Regions from separate parts of the Homo sapiens genome. Here region 1 is linked to region 2. Evidence: promoter capture Hi-C in 16 types of primary human blood cells and fetal thymus (Javierre and others, 2016). All regions are on one chromosome and are shown on one strand. The core of a region is centred on a gene start or on the middle of the fragment in contact, and the rest is flanking DNA. Distances in the headings are between cores, read along the strand shown.

The links. Contacts are between HindIII fragments. The CHiCAGO score rates a contact against its expected background, and 5 or more counts as called.
Region 1: a fragment that was not itself captured here is called in contact with the fragment with the promoter of NPL in region 2 in 4 of 17 cell types (M0 macrophages, M1 macrophages, neutrophils and 1 more); the score reaches 9.4 in M0 macrophages.

Annotation. Positions count from the first base shown.
Region 1 is chr1:182,192,034-182,195,797 of GRCh38, forward strand. No RefSeq gene overlaps it. Among named protein-coding and RNA genes, the nearest start is that of LINC01344, 120 kb to the right of the region's middle. The HindIII fragment of the contact is 7,202 bases long and covers 1-3,764 here.
Region 2 is chr1:182,788,080-182,791,624 of GRCh38, forward strand. NPL (N-acetylneuraminate pyruvate lyase) reads left to right here and starts at 1,694. Exons shown (of 13, transcript NM_030769.3): 1 at 1,694-1,726. RefSeq lists an enhancer at 1,347-1,847. The HindIII fragment of the contact is 6,627 bases long and covers 551-3,545 here.

The sequences.
Region 1 (3,764 bases), core at 770-3,269, 600 kb before region 2:
TATATTTTCAGCTCTCTGCTCTGGGCAGCCCTAGAGCAGTCTTTTGAAGAGAATAGCAAGGGCAGGCAGTTGGAAGCAGAAGCCCACATTTATATGAGGAAAGGTGCACAGAAATCTACAAAGAATCCAAGAGGATCTGGGCAGAACACCAACAATGTTTGCTACAGAAGATAGGATGTGAACAAATGTGCATCTTAAAAACAATGGAATAGCAATGGAGGAAATGGGCATCAGTGTAGGCTTCACGGAGGAAGTCAGGTGGCCTTGAAAGGATCGGCAGAAGAAATGCTTCAGTCAGGGGGAATATGGTGAGCAAAGTGAGAGGATCAATGTGAAACCAATGAGAAGACAGAAGGGACAGCCCCATGAGTAGATTGCTATCATTGGCTGTGGCCAACTTCTGAGGCAGAGAAGCTGAAGCCACCTTAGAGGGACTTTCTGTTGGAAACGCTGATTGGTTGATTCTTACTCTGACCCAGGGTCATTTCTTGAGTCCTTTGTGGCCAGCTTCTACTCCAAGGTGACATGCCACAACCAGGGCAGGATGATGGTGGCTGAAGCAGAGCCCCCAATTGTAGGCTCTGGTAGAGCTGGGAGGGCTAAGTTAGCCATGCAAAAAGTTTCAACTTTGTCCTATAAGGTCCAGGGAATCTTGGAAGGCTTCTAAACTAAGGAGTGATATAATCTGACCTGTGCTTAAAAAGGGTGACCCTGGCTAAGATGCCTGCACATTTTCTTTACTAGAATGGGTACTTTTCTTTTTAACCTTTACTGTGGGACTTCACTCCCAAAAGACATCTTTCTGTCCCTATCTGTCTTAATGTCCTTGGACTGCCATAACAGAATATATCACATACTGGGTGGCTTAAAAAACAAATTTATTTTTATACAGTTCTAGAGGCTATAAGTCTGAGATCAGGGTGCCAGGTCAGGTTCTGGTGAGGGTCCTCTTCCTGGTCTGTGGATGACCACCTTCTCCATGTGTGTTCATGTGGCTTTTCCTCGGTGTGGGTGAGCAGAGAGAGAAAGAGACAGACAGACAGACAGAGACATACAGAGAGAAAGTGAGAGCACCTTCCTGTCTCTCTTCCTCTTCTTCTAAGGACACTAACTGTGTCAGATCAGGGCCCTACCCTTATGGATGTATTAGTTCATTCTCACGCTGCTATGAATAAATACCCAAGACTGGGTAATGTATAAAGGAAAGAGGTTTAATTGACTCACAGTTCCATATGGCTAGAAAGGCCTCAGGAAACTTACAATCATGGCAGAAGCTGAGGGGGAGGCAGGCACCTTCTTCACATGGTGGCACGCGAGAGAATGAGAGCTGAGTGAAGCTAACAAAACCATCAGATCCTGTGAGAACTCACTCACTATCATGAGAACAGCATGGGGGAAACTGCCCCTATGATTCAGTTATCTCCACCTTGTCCCACTCTTGACACGTGGGGATTACACGATTCAAGGTGAGATTTGAGGTGGGGACACAGAGTCAAACCGTATCACTTCCTTTAGCCATAATTGCTTTTGTAAAGGCTCTATCTCCAAATACAGTCACATTGGGGGTTAGAGCTTCAACATATGAATTTTTAGAGGACACAAATGTTCAGCCTATAGCATCATCCCATAGATTTCTTAAATAGTTGGAAATATCCCAGAGACTTACATGCATCAGGACTCATAACAGCAGTCAAGGCTTAGCAACAGCAGGTAAATTCAAGAGTTACTTCAGCCCAGCTATTGACCTCATGTGATTATCTTCTTTAACCTATCCAGACCATCAGTTTATCTCAGTTAAATTTGTACTGCCATGGCACATATATTGGGAAAAAAAATGTGCTACTTAGATTTCCCAAGGAATTTGTATTTCATCTCCTAAAGCTGACACTGGGAGTTTATCAGGTCCAGAGTTCAAATTCTGGCTTTCCAACTGATCATTATAGAGCTGGCTTCCTTGCTGGCTTTAGCATCTGGAGTTGCAACAGATACCTCGGTGCCTGAAACATGTTTATGAAATCTATGAAACCACAAGCCAGCTGTCCAGTTCCAATGTGAAGCAATAGATACTCTTGGGCTACAGTGCCTTGGTTGTAGCACGTCACCTTGGAGGAGGAGCTGGCCTCATCAGACACAAGAAATGAGTCTCAGGTCCCATGAAATGGCTCATGCTTGTATACCAACACTTTGGGAAGCCCAGATGGGAGAATCGCTTGAGGCTAGGAGTTCAAGACAAACCTGGGCAACAAAGCAAGAGCCTATCTCTACAAAATTGAAAAAATTAGCTGGGCATGGTAATGCGCTCCTGTAGTCCCACCTACTAGAGAGGCTGAGGTGGAAGGATTGCTTGAGCCCAGGACATTGATGATGCAATGAGCTATGATGGCACCACTACACTCCAGCCTGGGGGACAGAGAATGACCCTGTCTCTAAAATTAAGAAAAAAAGAGAAAGAAATGAGTCTAAGGCAAAGTAAAGAGCAACCAGTTTCCAACAGAAGGTCCTTCTAAGGTGGAAATTAAGGCAAAAAATGTAAAAAAAAAAAAATAGATTTTATAAACATTTTTACTTCAGCTTTGTTGGTTTAGCCTAATAACTTTCCTATCTTTTTTAACAGATTTCTTTAAATTAAGCATATTTGCAATTCAAATAGCAAAAACACTACGTAGCTATTAATTAGTACATACACTTGATCTATAATAAATTCTTAAACACTAAATAACCAAACACTAAATATAGAAAACACTAAATAGCCAAAATGAGACCATCTCCATCCAAAAACATAAATAAAAACCAGACATACCCTGTAAACAATATTCTGCATTATTCCTTTTCTCCAAAACTATATTTAAGTTTGGTTCTTGATATTTTTCACTATGTTCTCCCAACTGTTGTGTGGGTTCAGCCATGCTTTAAAAATATAGGTTTTTTCAGATCTTTTTCTGATTACAAAAGCATATATTTTTATGTCAAGAAATTTAAAAAATTTAGATAAGCATAAAGAATAAAACATCTATAACCACGGTTAACATTTTGCTGCCTTGTTTTTAATTTCTACATGTAACACTCACTCATTTATTCATTCATTCATTCATTCATTCATTCATCATTTACTCATGTTTCCAACAATTACATTTATTGAGCTCTCAAGAGGAGCTTACATTCTAGTGGAGAGAGGGAAAAATGAACTGGTAAATCAAAAGATAAAAGACAGGGTAGTGATGAGTTCTATGGTAAAAACAAAGCAGGTGATATGGTATCAAGTACTACTTAAGTTGAAACCTGAATGATAAGAAGAATCTAGCTTTGTGAAGATCTTAAAAAAGAACAGTCCAGGCTGGAGGGACAGCTGGTACAAAGCCTTAGAAATACAAGTACCCTTTAGCCAGAAATCCCGCTTGTAAGAATGTGCTTGTAAGTATGCAAAGAAATCATTATATGGATAACAGATATATATATAGATGATAGCTAGCTAGATAGATAGATATAACCACACTCTTGTTTATAGTAACAAATGGATACAAATAATCTATCACTGGGAATTTGTTGAATACTTCATGGTGCTTCCATAAAATGGATCATCTTCCAGTTGCTAAAAAATGAACTGGGTCTTTCTCTACATGCTGACATGGAAAGATCTCCAAATGCCAACTCAGGATCCCAAGCTGCTTGTGTCCAGTGGTTCTGCCATTCACTAAAGCCTCCTTGAAATCCTCCACTGAGTTCCTGCATTTGGTTCTCCAACCAGCAGAGAGAGAGATTATGAG
Region 2 (3,545 bases), core at 444-2,943:
TTTCATAACGGCACAGAGTGGATACTGTAAGAATGCAGTGAGACTCTCCCTACTCCATGCTCCTTTCTTCCATCTTTTGTTCCACAGATGTCAGCCCTACATCAGTCTGCAGGCTGCTCCTGTCTGCTCCAAATCCCTCCCCCAGTAAGTTTCTTGCACATCTAATCCCATCTTAGCATCTGCTTCTTGGTAGACACTAACAAATTATTATAAGGAATTACTTTGCACTACCATATTTATACAAAAAGTAGTTAGTTCATGCATTTAGAATATTGGTTTGTTGGTTGACAATGTTAAGCCTAATGACCTATACCTTTTGGGTACTGACATACTTAATTTTGCACTTATTAAACTGTGACTTTCCAAAAAAAAAAAAAACTTTCATTGTACCATTAGGATATAATATTCTTGTTAATATTACAAAAACCAAACCAAAACAAAAACCATGCTGCAGCCTTAGGAGAACTTGCTTCATGTAACTAAGGGTTTTTCTTTTTCTTTTCTTTTTGTATTTTTTTTTCCTGTAGGATAACATAGTGTTAAAAGCACAAGCTTCTGGACTACTTGAAATCAAACCACAGCTTAACCAGCTCTATGGCTTTTGGCAAATTACTTCAACTCTTTAAACCTGTTTCTGATCTGTAAAATGGAATGATCCTTGCTCATCTGTAATATATACATTTATAAAACAGGACCCACCAATGGGATTATTTTATGAATTAAATGTTAAAACAGCTAGAACGGTGCAGGCTGAGTAAGCACTGAACACAGTACTTATTAGCTATTATCTCTGGTGCTCTGTGCAACGAAAGAACTATTAGAATACATTTAAAAGCACTTTGCAAACTAGAAAGCCCTTTGAACAATTTAGTTTCTCTAAATGTAATAATAAGCATCAGCCATCGCCTTTTATGGAAAATTGAGGTGGAATCACATCAGCAAGAGAAAACTGAGGACTTGTCTCTGGCTCTGTTCCTGATTTATTCACACAGTACATGATCCTAGAATAAGACTCCTGATACTCCTGAAAGTAGAGGCGGTTGGGTTAAAAATAATTTTCCCTTTCAAAACTCTTTCAAATGTTCTCCAAAAGAAGCCAGGAAAGCTCCCGTATGAGTAGATAATTCACTTTAAAATTCGCTCATCTCTCTTTAACACGAGAGTCTGCAGGGCTGGTGCAGCGGCGTCAACCCGAAGAGACCTGAACGCCGATGGGCAGTTGGGATTCTCCGTACGCCTCGGAAACAGCAGCCCAAACCTCACAACGCAGAACCACGAGATAGTGGGGATTGCAGAGCCCTGCGCAAGAGAAGGAAAATTAAGACGCAGCGGAGCCCAGGAGGTGCCCGCACGCGGGAAGGACTGGCGTGCAGACGAGGCAGGGGGAGGTTTGCACTCGGCGTGGCGCGGGTGAGCCGCGTGCTCTCGGGCACCCGGCCGCCAGTTCGGATGCTTCCGATCCTCGGGGAGCCGGGGCGCTGCGCCGGAGTCACTTCAGCCCATGTTGTTCAGGTGACACCCGGGGAAGAGCAGACTCCAGTGTGCAAAACGTTTCGGGGTTTCCGGGCCAGCGGTTCCGGGCGCGCCTCGCGGGCGGCGGCGCAGAACTACAACCCCCAGGCTCCCTGGCGTGGCGGCACGTGGGCCCGAGCCGGGCGGCCGCGGATATAAAGCGCGGCGGCGGCTGCCGGGCGGAGCGGCTGCACGGACAAGAGCGGAGGCCTGGGTGAGCGCGGCCCGCGACGGCACGGGCTAGGACAGACGGACGCAGACGGCCCGACGACCTGGGCGTTCGGGCGGAGGGGCGCTGGGGCCTGACTCGCGGGTGGGTGAGACGTTGACGGACCCGGAGGAAAGAGGGAAGGCAGATACGCTGGGAAACGGATCTGGGGAAGGTGTGAATGCGAAAAGTGTAGGGACAGACGGGGGCAGAAGAACTTACTCCCCCGGATTGTTTGCAGACAGCATATCTGCCGGGTCTCCAAAGGTCCTTTCCTCAAAATAGAGTTAGCAATTGAGCAGAAGAGAGCTTAAAGTTAAACCTGATACATCCCCCCTTCACTTGAGGAGAAATTGGTGGTTTTCTGCTTTTTTAAAAATCCCTATTTGTATCTCCTCTTCTCCGAGTACCTGTCCCTCAAGATATTCTCTGCCCAGAGGTACATTCTGCCCTCACTTTCTGTCTCTTAAAAAAACAACTTTGCCATTTAAAAAAGAATTTGACTTAGGCAGCTTTAATTCTTTGCACTGAGTGTTCTTATCTGTGGATGGAGGTATAAGATTTCAAGAGTAATACCCCCTCCCAATGTTTCAGTAATAATCTAAATTCACATTAAGCCTTAGGCTGGAGAACATTTGAGCTATTCGCTTTAGCTACGAGCTCTGAAAACTTCAAAGCATAACATTCCCAAGTTTATCTAAAACTTGAATCTTAAAAATAATGATAATTATCTGTTATGCTTCAAAGCATAACATTCCCAAGTTTATTAAAAACTTGAATCTTAAAAATACTGATCATTCTCTGTTAAAGTCTTTTGTTGTTGTTGTTGTTGTTGTTGTTGTTGTTGTTGTTGTTGTTTTTGAGACGGAGTCTCGCTCTTGTCGCCCAGGCCGGACTGCAGTGGCGCTATCTCGGCTCACTGCAAGCTCCACCTCCCAGGTTCACGCCATTCTCCTGCCTCAGCCTCCCGAGTAGCTGGGACTACAGGCTCCCGCCACCACGCCCGGCTAATTTTGTATTTTTAGTAGAGACGGGGTTTGGCCATGTTGGCCAGGCTGGTCTCGAACTCCTGACCTCAGGTGATCCGCCCACCTCGGCCTCCCAAAGTGCTGGGATTACAGGCTTGAGCCACCGCGCCCGGCCAAAGTCGTTTTTATCCCATTTCTTCCTGTAGGCGTTTCAAAGTTTGCAAAGGCAGCAAACTTTTACGTAGTGTAGTTATCTGTGCAAAGAAATTTTCCAAGCTGCCATTGCCCCCAGATGGCAGACAGTCTAGGAGAGGAGCCAAAACCACCCTGCTTAATAACTCTGATGTAAGGTTTTTAATGAAAAGCCACTGTTTGGGGGAATTCTGAGGTTTAAGAAATTATTTTCGGCTGGGGTATCAGGAAATCCCCTGGTTTTTAAAATGAGAGGTTTTTTGGTTTTTGTTTGTTTTTGTTTTTAAGCTATACCTGCTGGAATGGATAAAGTGAGCTTTAAAAGTTGATCAGACCGAAGAGATTGAAGTGAGAGAACCACAGGAACAAAGGCAAGCAGACAGACAGTGAAAGGTAGATAGGAGGAACAGCAAACAGTTTGTTCAGCTGGGCAAGTATAGTGCAGGCACGAAGATTTCAATAGAGACCCAGACCCCAGGGAGCTGGTTCTTTAGCCTACTGGCATTTTCTAAACAGGACAAAGACAAGACCAGAAATGCTGGTGTTACTGGAAGATTAATCTGACAGCTGGTGTGGATTGAAGAAGAGAAGAGGGATTAGGACAGTGATTCCTAACCCCTATCCTACACTCCCAACGGCCCCTTGTTTTGAATTTTTGAACTAAT